Linked DNA regions of Homo sapiens: region 1 is linked to region 2. The links are contacts of gene promoters, found by promoter capture Hi-C in blood cells and fetal thymus (Javierre and others, 2016). All regions are on one chromosome and are shown on one strand. Each heading gives the region's core, a stretch centred on a gene start or on the middle of the fragment in contact. The rest is flanking DNA. Distances are from core to core; before and after follow the strand shown. Region 1 overlaps CEBPG (CCAAT enhancer binding protein gamma). Region 2 holds the start of CEBPA (CCAAT enhancer binding protein alpha).

The links. The method cuts DNA at HindIII sites, captures the fragments that hold promoters and counts their contacts. A CHiCAGO score of 5 or more calls a contact.
Region 1: a contact is called between a fragment that was not itself captured here and the fragment with the promoter of CEBPA in region 2, in 5 of 17 cell types (M0 macrophages, M2 macrophages, M1 macrophages and 2 more). The highest score is 10.6, in M0 macrophages.

The regions. Positions count from the first base shown.
Region 1 is chr19:33,377,902-33,383,054 of GRCh38, reverse strand. It overlaps CEBPG (CCAAT enhancer binding protein gamma), which reads right to left. Exons shown (of 2, transcript NM_001806.4): 2 at 369-3,911. The coding sequence starts at 3,815. The coding sequence ends at 3,363. Among named protein-coding and RNA genes, the nearest start is that of CEBPG, 6.8 kb to the right of the region's middle. RefSeq lists an enhancer at 4,559-5,153. The HindIII fragment of the contact is 3,365 bases long and covers 1,222-4,586 here.
Region 2 is chr19:33,299,895-33,305,189 of GRCh38, reverse strand. It overlaps CEBPA (CCAAT enhancer binding protein alpha), which reads left to right and starts at 2,656. Exons shown (of 1, transcript NM_004364.5): 1 at 2,656-5,256. The coding sequence starts at 2,776. The coding sequence ends at 3,852. It overlaps CEBPA-DT (CEBPA divergent transcript), which reads right to left and starts at 2,369. Exons shown (of 1, transcript NR_026887.2): 1 at 133-2,369. RefSeq lists silencers at 1,916-2,175, 2,256-2,825. The HindIII fragment of the contact is 12,770 bases long and covers 1-4,771 here.

The DNA of each region.
Region 1 (5,153 bases), core at 1,655-4,154, 78 kb before region 2:
ATTTCTTCCCTCTCTAAATGGAAACCATGTTCTGAGACACTAGGTGATTAAGCGGGAACCCATTTATTCAGTTATTCCTTTCCCTATTCTGGTATAATTTTTAGTTTAGACCAAGTGACTAAAAATATAACTAAAGATGTATCCCATGTTCAGAGAAAACTATTTTCCTATCCACTAAGGGCAAACGGGGAGATCTAGACTTGGACACAAATACCTCTGCCTGTCTCCCCACTTTCCCCACCCCTACCCCCAGCCGTCCAGTGTGGGAACAGGAAAGACAGCAAGGCACCTGCCTGGGCTTCCCAGCTGTTTAACATCTGGACTGCTTTTTGGTATCTAATATAAAGAAAGCCACGATGAAAGACAAGTCATTGTTCCAAAGTTGTTTTTTATTTTATATTTGTTGAAAGAAATAAAATTATATTTAAAAAAAATAGAGAAATCTCACAAACTGATGAAAGCCAGGAACAAAAAGAACAAGTTAGTACTTTTTCCTGAGAGGCAGATCTAACAGCTGCAGAATGGACTTCTTCCTTCCCAGCTTTTGTGAAACAAAACAATTCTCCTAAGGCATCAGAAAGCACTGAGTGCAAAATGGGTTGTTCAGGTACAAGGTCTCAAGCCCTCTAATGGGGACTGGGAAACGTGAAAAGCTGCTACAATTTCCTCTCCTTTAATACCAAATGTTAAACTGTCTATACTTCTACTTTTTATGTAAATTTGAGAATTTCACACTCATGACCTGCATTTCGGACCTGGTCGTGTTTGATTAAAATCTTACTACTTAGTGATCTGCACTGGCATCCCAACAACTGATTGCAGGGGCCAGCAGCAGGAAGAGCTGCTCTGATCTCACCATCCGCAGCCAAAACCAGCCAAAGAGCACCCATCCCAGGAGACTCAGATGCAGCTAGAAATTTATGCTAAAGCCTAACTCCTAACTATGCTGGACCTGCCCACAAGGGCAGATCACATCCTAGTGGTTCACAGGTCACACACAGAACAAAAGTTACAAAAGTCACCTCACAATTCCCGAAGCTCTAAATTGATTCATTCCCCACACGTGGTTTCCCTAATTTTATACTGATAAATCTATCAAATTAAAAGCTTTCATTTCCAACCACTTCAATAAGATAGACAACACCATGCTTAACATTTTTGTTCTCTGCCTAATTGCTTGCTTCTGCTAAACTTTGCATTTCCATGGCTAATAGGAAAGCTTGAACCCATTTTTCCAAAAGTTCCAATCTTGTGTTCTGATTTGAAATACTGAGTACACACCCCTGATGCTTTCTCTAAAGTTTCTTTTTCAAGATACTTAAGTCAATTCATATAACTGGTATAAATTCCATGGGAGCATCGAATTCCCAAGAGATTTAAATGTCTGTAGCGCCTACCATAGGTGCTTGCTTATACATTCAAGTGACCTAATGCATCTCCAATTAAGTTAATTATGTAACACCAATCAGCTGCTAAGGAGCCAGTAGGATCCTGTGGGTGTGTCCTGGCTAGTTTTTCAAAACATCTCTCATCCTTCATGGGTAGATTCATACTCCAAGGTAAGCTGGTGTTGGACCCTAGAAACCCCTATCCTGTCTCCTGGCTCTATAGGGAGTTAACAGCCCTCCTGGGACAGCTTCTCCTGGGCTCCAGTTTTACATTCAGAAGGACCTCACGACTCTTAAGAATGGCTTTGCTGAGTTGCTGGACACCATGATGTCTTCTCCTGCCCAGAAACGGCACGGTCAGCAATCTTCCACCAACCGGAGGGTGCAACTTGAGTTTTATTCTGGCTACATCATCCCAAGTCCTAGTATGAAACAGCAATGTGGCCAAAAATGACCATGTTCAAATAAGATACCTGATAACACAAACTTTTAAATCAGTTATGACTCAGTCTCTCATCTCCAGCCCAGGCACACAAAAAATACACAAATTTGAGCTAGAACTGTGCTAAGAAAAAAAGAGAAAGAAAAGAAAGCAAAAGAGAGAAGAAAAAACGTTGACAAAGACAATCTAAACTACCAACACTGACGTAAGCCAGACTCTAGAGTCCCTACTTTAGCGACTGCCATTTTTTAGTCTCAACAAAAATGTCAATATCCTGAGTTTTATCAGCATTTTCTGAAATAATTTATGGGACACAAAAGCATATAAATGAATAAACAGAAGCAGTGGTACAAAGTCTGGAAAGCCCACTAACCAGAAAAAGAAATGTCACAACAACAATATCAAAAGATGTATTTAAGAGAAATAAATTAAAGGTTAAAACCTTACACTTTCAAGTTTTCTTAGACAATTATTTTGGGAGATGGCATGGAGTTGATACATTTCTCTAATAATCACTTGGTTAAGATCAAATACCAAAATGAGCCTTCAGAAGAAAATTTTGACTTTAAAAGTAACAGCCCCATGGCAGCTATTTTGAACACAAGAGAAACTACCTTCTGAATTAATATTCCAAACCCTCATCAGTAGCTTGTGTCATCAAACTGTTAAGATATTTTGTTTACTAACTTGGTTGTCAAAATTGTATCCAAAAAAACACTAGCATCTGCAGAAACTAAAATTTTGGTACACAAGTTTCTCTACACCACTGAGTTGGGTTTTTAGAATAAAACAATGCCAATCTAAGCCCAAAGGTATCTCAAAAACATAATTCCTATGCTTTAGTTTTATTTTTGTGTTTAATCTATTTGCTTCCTAAATGTTATTTGTATTTTTTAAGTCAATTGGCCACACACTACCTATAAGATGTGATGAAGTTTCTTTACTTAACCTGACATTGCTACTCAAAAACTTGTACTTTTGGGGGAAAACAGTACTAATTATGTTAAAACAAAGTTTATGCCATATATAAAATCACTCCAAATTACACACTCATTGCTTTCTATAGCTCTACGAATTTATAATACATAATTTAGAAGAAAATCACAAATAGATTACCATAGGTGGCATTCAACTTTTCTTAATCCAATTCAGCCTATCCATTAAAACCAAGAACCTTCTGCGCGGCCTGCCAGTTCCCCATTCCTTTTGTCAACTTAAAAAAGAAGCATTTCTTGGGAAGTCAGGATTTATTAAGAACATCGGGATCCCAGATATTTCTTTTTTTACCATATACCTTAACATTTGGGGGATTTTGATTCCCACAAAAACCTCTATCATTTAAAACCAGATATTCGAATTACAAGGCTAACATTTTTAGCTAATCAACTCTTCAGTGCTGATCCCAGAAAATAGCCTCCAATGGGTCTTTGAGTCATGGAAATGGACAACTTTCAGCCATTGACATGAGTGGTGTCGGTGGTCACACCTTTAACATTCAAGCCACAAGCTCTAAAGTCTGGAAAGGGTGAGGTCTACTGTCCTGCATTGTCGCCATCTGCTGTCGTATTTTCAGTGCTAATGGACTGTACGTTGTCTGCAAGGTTGTGTGCATGCTCAAGAAACAAATCTTTGAGTACACTTAATTCCTTGGTCAGCAATTTGATTTTTGCTTCCAACCGTTCATTCTCTTCTTTGAGCTGATTGACTCTCTGCAGTGTGTCTTGTGCTTTCTGCTTGCTTTTCAACCGGCTCTTTTTCACAGCCATGTTGTTCCTCTCTCGGCGTTGCCGATACTCGTCACTGTTTCGATCCATGGGCGAACTCTTTTTGCTCTGCTTGCTGGGAGCCACAGCTTTGCCTCCTCCCCCAGGGCCAGCAGGCACCAGCTGAGGAACCTGCTGTAAGCCGCTGGCATGTGCCTGGGTATGGATAACACTAATTCCGTTCACCCCTGGAGTGCTGTTTTGCTGCGATATCTTGCTCATTTGGGCACTCTCCCTTGCCAACACAGAACAGGTAGAAATGAGAGCAGGGTGATCAATGGTTTCCACGCTAAGCTGCCAAAAAATCTTCACATGTACCTAGTTAAAAAATAAATTGCATTAAAATATTTGAAATGACAGGATCAAATGAGATCAAACTTGTACGTACCTAACATCAGGCCAACATTAATTGATTCTGCTGAGAAAAGTCTACAGCAACTGCCAACTGTTCCAATGTTTCTGAAGTCTAAATCATTTCACTTAGAAAGGTAAGTAAGCACAGAAGCACCATCAGGCGAAACTCAGCCCACCTGGATCCCTGAGGGCACTGCCCCTCTGCGATTGTTATCAAAAATGGGAGGAAAACAAAAGACTTCCACTAATTAGGTGGCGCATGTGAACTAACAGCACTTGACAATCTCCCAGGGAGGAGCTGCAGCTGACTGTAGTAGGAGAGACACCTGCAATGAAAGGGGGGAAAAGTTTCCATTGTTGGTTCAAGTCAAAACAGAAGGCTGGGGTTGCGCACCCTGTCTCCAGCGCTCTCATGCTATCACCCCTGCGGGTTCCATGTTCTAATATGCAGAGAGGGAGTCATCGAGGACTTGAGTTCTCTCCCAGAGCTCTCTTCATCGGATATTTTGAAAAGGTAGTTTTTTGCTTTATTTTTTTAATGACCTCAAATGATAATTCCACAGTTTAACCAAATTTACTGAGTCAGTTTCTTGAATTTAGGAGCTCTGACACTCAATTTGCTCCCCATCCCACCAAGCTTGTAAAAAGTGTGTTTTTTCTTCTTGACATAATTAGTAAAACTCAAAACACACTCAACCTGAAACCACAAGGAAAGAAACAGAAGCCCTCATGATGCATCCAAGGAAGTGCGGGTCCTGGGACCCAGGCTGGACAAAGGAGCTGAGCAGCTGCCGTGCCTGTGGCCACTTCGTGCTACCAAATGAGCTCGTGTGAGCTCGGAGGACGCACCAGCTCTGAAGCATCCCTGTGCTGCTGCCTGCAGAAATGAAGGCACGGTTTCGAAAAGCAGTCACATGTGGATTACTCTGAATCCAATTAAGTCCCTACAGCTGCCCCAAGAAGTGTAAAAGTGTGACTATCCTATCAACATGAGGCCACTTCAAGACAAACTAAGTTCAGTGAACGGTGTCCACCAAGGAATCAGGGCACTCTTAGAAATTTAGAAAGCAGTGTTAGGAACATAAAACTATCCTGTTCTCTTTTCACAAAACTGCTAAAATCACATCAGTGGAAAAAATCTGGAGTCAGATTTATGCAGTGATCCCACAATGAGGGAAAGCTCAGTTAGCAAACACCAGTAGCTAC
Region 2 (5,295 bases), core at 1,407-3,906:
AGCTGCCAGCACCCTCAGGTTCTGGTGAGGGGCCTCTTCCCTGCTTGCAGACGGCCACCTCCTTTCTGTGCATGCCCATGACATTGTTCTTCTGATAAGGCCACCAATCCTATCAAATTAGGACCCTACCCATATGACATCATCTCACTTTAATGACTTCCTAAAAGCCTTATCTCCAAATACAGTCACATGGGGGTTAGGCCTTCAACATAGGAATTTGGGGCAGGGACACAGTTCAGTCCATAACACCTCCGCAGACAAATCTGATCTCTGCCTCCTCCACAGCGCCACCTTGTTCAGGGCAGGACTTCTCTTCATCACAGCACATCCACCCTTGATTCCCATTTGTGCCTCGTGTGCATTTGATGAATGAATGAAGTCCCATCCCCTACTCCTTCTGTCTCCTCCTTCCTCCCAGCAGCCTCTGTGTGACAACTTATCCGTCTCTCCCACTGTCCCAGTTCCCAGAGGCAGGAGCCACCCTCTCATGCATCCCTGGGCTCTCGGCACCCTGCACAGGGCAGGCCCGGGTGGGTGAATTCTGGTTCAATTGTAGGAGGACCTGTGGCCCCTGGGGTTGGCGAACCCCGGGCCGGGAGTCCCACTCCTTGCCATTGTCGCCCCCACACATTCATCAGCCCCCTATTGGACAAAGTCTTATTCCCATTACTGAGGTTTCTTCCAGTCCTACGGGGCAGAGTTCCCGATCTCTGGGCAGGCAACAGCAGCTGTGCAAAAAAGGCCAGACATCGCCTTCCTCCCACAACTCCACAGGCCGGGAACCGTGCATGTACAGTGGCGTTTCTTTGTTCCTAGGTAGGAAAAGCCATTAGTTTTAGCACCGCAGAAAAAAACGCAAATCGCTCTTGGTGCTTTTTGATTTCCGTCCAGGTCTCCCTCCACAGGTGAATGCTATATGAATGGGTCCTGCATTTGGCTCAGCAAGCAGCTCTCCGGCTCACATCGGGATATTTATTTAACGTATCTGGTTTTTACTCCCTCCCGTCCAAAAGCGTCAAGCTAAAAATATCTTGTTTATGAGCTCTGGACCGAAAACGAAGCAGTTGGGCTATTAATCACTGGGACTATGTTGAATAGGAACTTGATTAAAGCGCAGTGTGCGTTGCCCAGATGAAACTGCTTCTTTACTGCGATCGTCGTGGAAGCTCGGGGCTCTCCAGCGGTGTTTTTAGCTGTGCCCCCTCCGGGGCTCCTGGGCGGGTCGTGGCGCCTTGCCAGGCCTAAGGCCACTGTCGGTGAAGGGGGTCTTCCCTCACCTGTAGGCAAGCGCGCCTCTAGCCGGGACGCAGGCGGCGTCAGGCCTCAGCGCCAGTGGCGAGGGGCGGCGCGGGCAAGGACAGGAGACACTTGAGGGCTCCCAAGACTCCATCTGGGCCCAGCTGACGGTCCGTAGCCGCCACCCCGGCCCCGGTAAAGAATGCGAGGGACGCACGTGGCTGGGGGTCTCGGTGGCAAGCTCCTTCCCCCGCCGCGGTGAGAGCATTAGCTGCCGCACTCAAGGGGCCCCAGGGCCTGGCCGCCTCGGTCCCTAGGATCCCGGGGACTACAGCGCCCGGCGAACCACTGGGCAGAGTTCTCCCTGTGCGTGCTCGGACCTGGCAGCCCGGCGGCCTGGACACCCTCGCTCCCGCCGTTGGCGCCCACCTGAATGGGGAGGCGGGGGAGGAAGCGGTGGCTTCGGGCCTCGAGGGCTGCGGCCCCCGCCTCGGAATCCCGGCCCCAGAGTTAAGTTTGTCTCCTCCCTCGGTGCGCCCCTCCCCGTGCTCGCCCCGGCGTCCAGCTCCGCTAGTCTGGGGGGCCCCGCGGTCCCGCAGGAAAAAAAATCGGCGACTCCACGCCGGGTAACAGCGCCGGCCCCGCGCGCCTAGCAAGCCGCGCGCTCCGACCTGGAGAAGTAATTATAAAGAAAGTTTTCCAGCCCGGGCGGATCGACCGGCCAGGTCCTCCAGGCTCCCGGGCCGAGGCCGCCTCCGCTCCCCGCGGGGTCCTAGCGCCCTGCGCGGCGCCGCCCATGGGACCCCGGCGTCCTCCGAGAGGTACCTCTGCGCGGAATCACAGGGGTAGCCTGGAGATCAGAGCTAGGAGACGCAGAGCCACCGCGCTCAGGACCTCTCCGCGCGTCCCAAACGGCCCCCCACCGGCCCCAGCCCCGCTGCTCTGCGCTGCAGCCTCCCCGGGACGCGGGTCCGGGACAGGCCTGGTTCTGGCTTTGAAAGAGAATCCGCGCCCCAGCAGCTCAAGACCAAGACTCGCCCTCCGCCCCCCACCCCTACCCCGTGCAGCCTCGGGATACTCCTGGGCTCCCGGCCGTGGCTGGATACGGGCGCCTAGGGCAGGCAGGAGGAGGGGGCCCCCGCTACCGACCACGTGGGCGCGGGGGCGACGGCCGGGCCGGGGGCGGAGCTTGGAGCGAGCGCCGCGGCTCTGCTGGGCGCGCTGGAGGCGGTGGGCGTTGCGCCGCGGCCTGCCTGGGGAGCGCGGCGCTGTGCCGCGCTGGTTCGCCGCCCCATGCCGGCCGCGCGCTAGGACCCAGCAGGCGCCGCGCCGCCGCAGCCCGGGGACAGAGGCCGCCTCGGACTCTAGGGGGCGACGCGGCCTGCCGGGTATAAAAGCTGGGCCGGCGCGGGCCGGGCCATTCGCGACCCGGAGGTGCGCGGGCGCGGGCGAGCAGGGTCTCCGGGTGGGCGGCGGCGACGCCCCGCGCAGGCTGGAGGCCGCCGAGGCTCGCCATGCCGGGAGAACTCTAACTCCCCCATGGAGTCGGCCGACTTCTACGAGGCGGAGCCGCGGCCCCCGATGAGCAGCCACCTGCAGAGCCCCCCGCACGCGCCCAGCAGCGCCGCCTTCGGCTTTCCCCGGGGCGCGGGCCCCGCGCAGCCTCCCGCCCCACCTGCCGCCCCGGAGCCGCTGGGCGGCATCTGCGAGCACGAGACGTCCATCGACATCAGCGCCTACATCGACCCGGCCGCCTTCAACGACGAGTTCCTGGCCGACCTGTTCCAGCACAGCCGGCAGCAGGAGAAGGCCAAGGCGGCCGTGGGCCCCACGGGCGGCGGCGGCGGCGGCGACTTTGACTACCCGGGCGCGCCCGCGGGCCCCGGCGGCGCCGTCATGCCCGGGGGAGCGCACGGGCCCCCGCCCGGCTACGGCTGCGCGGCCGCCGGCTACCTGGACGGCAGGCTGGAGCCCCTGTACGAGCGCGTCGGGGCGCCGGCGCTGCGGCCGCTGGTGATCAAGCAGGAGCCCCGCGAGGAGGATGAAGCCAAGCAGCTGGCGCTGGCCGGCCTCTTCCCTTACCAGCCGCCGCCGCCGCCGCCGCCCTCGCACCCGCACCCGCACCCGCCGCCCGCGCACCTGGCCGCCCCGCACCTGCAGTTCCAGATCGCGCACTGCGGCCAGACCACCATGCACCTGCAGCCCGGTCACCCCACGCCGCCGCCCACGCCCGTGCCCAGCCCGCACCCCGCGCCCGCGCTCGGTGCCGCCGGCCTGCCGGGCCCTGGCAGCGCGCTCAAGGGGCTGGGCGCCGCGCACCCCGACCTCCGCGCGAGTGGCGGCAGCGGCGCGGGCAAGGCCAAGAAGTCGGTGGACAAGAACAGCAACGAGTACCGGGTGCGGCGCGAGCGCAACAACATCGCGGTGCGCAAGAGCCGCGACAAGGCCAAGCAGCGCAACGTGGAGACGCAGCAGAAGGTGCTGGAGCTGACCAGTGACAATGACCGCCTGCGCAAGCGGGTGGAACAGCTGAGCCGCGAACTGGACACGCTGCGGGGCATCTTCCGCCAGCTGCCAGAGAGCTCCTTGGTCAAGGCCATGGGCAACTGCGCGTGAGGCGCGCGGCTGTGGGACCGCCCTGGGCCAGCCTCCGGCGGGGACCCAGGGAGTGGTTTGGGGTCGCCGGATCTCGAGGCTTGCCCGAGCCGTGCGAGCCAGGACTAGGAGATTCCGGTGCCTCCTGAAAGCCTGGCCTGCTCCGCGTGTCCCCTCCCTTCCTCTGCGCCGGACTTGGTGCGTCTAAGATGAGGGGGCCAGGCGGTGGCTTCTCCCTGCGAGGAGGGGAGAATTCTTGGGGCTGAGCTGGGAGCCCGGCAACTCTAGTATTTAGGATAACCTTGTGCCTTGGAAATGCAAACTCACCGCTCCAATGCCTACTGAGTAGGGGGAGCAAATCGTGCCTTGTCATTTTATTTGGAGGTTTCCTGCCTCCTTCCCGAGGCTACAGCAGACCCCCATGAGAGAAGGAGGGGAGCAGGCCCGTGGCAGGAGGAGGGCTCAGGGAGCTGAGATCCCGACAAGCCCGCCAGCCCCAGCCGCTCCTCCACGCCTGTCCTTAGAAAGGGGTGGAAACATAGGGACTTGGGGCTTGGAACCTAAGGTTGTTCCCCTAGTTCTACATGAAGGTGGAGGGTCTCTAGTTCCACGCCTCTCCCACCTCCCTCCGCACACACCCCACCCCAGCCTGCTATAGGCTGGGCTTCCCCTTGGGGCGGAACTCACTGCGATGGGGGTCACCAGGTGACCAGTGGGAGCCCCCACCCCGAGTCACACCAGAAAGCTAGGTCGTGGGTCAGCTCTGAGGATGTATACCCCTGGTGGGAGAGGGAGACCTAGAGATCTGGCTGTGGGGCGGGCATGGGGGGTGAAGGGCCACTGGGACCCTCAGCCTTGTTTGTACTGTATGCCTTCAGCATTGCCTAGGAACACGAAGCACGATCAGTCCATCCCAGAGGGACCGGAGTTATGACAAGCTTTCCAAATATTTTGCTTTATCAGCCGATATCAACACTTGTATCTGGCCTCTGTGCCCCAGCAGTGCCTTGTGCAATGTGAATGTGCGCGTCTCTGCTAAACCACCATTTTATTTGGTTTTTGTTTTGTTTTGGTTTTGCTCGGATACTTGCCAAAATGAGACTCTCCGTCGGCAGCTGGGGGAAGGGTCTGAGACTCCCTTTCCTTTTGGTTTTGGGATTACTTTTGATCCTGGGGGACCAATGAGGTGAGGGGGGTTCTCCTTTGCCCTCAGCTTTCCCCAGCCCCTCCGGCCTGGGCTGCCCACAAGGCTTGTCCCCCAGAGGCCCTGGCTCCTGGTCGGGAAGGGAGGTGGCCTCCCGCCAACGCATCACTGGGGCTGGGAGCAGGGAAGGACGGCTTGGTTCTCTTCTTTTGGGGAGAACGTAGAGTCTCACTCTAGATGTTTTATGTATTATATCTATAATATAAACATATCAAAGTCAATGTCGGTGTCTTTTTAAAACCAGAAAGAAGCTACTTCCA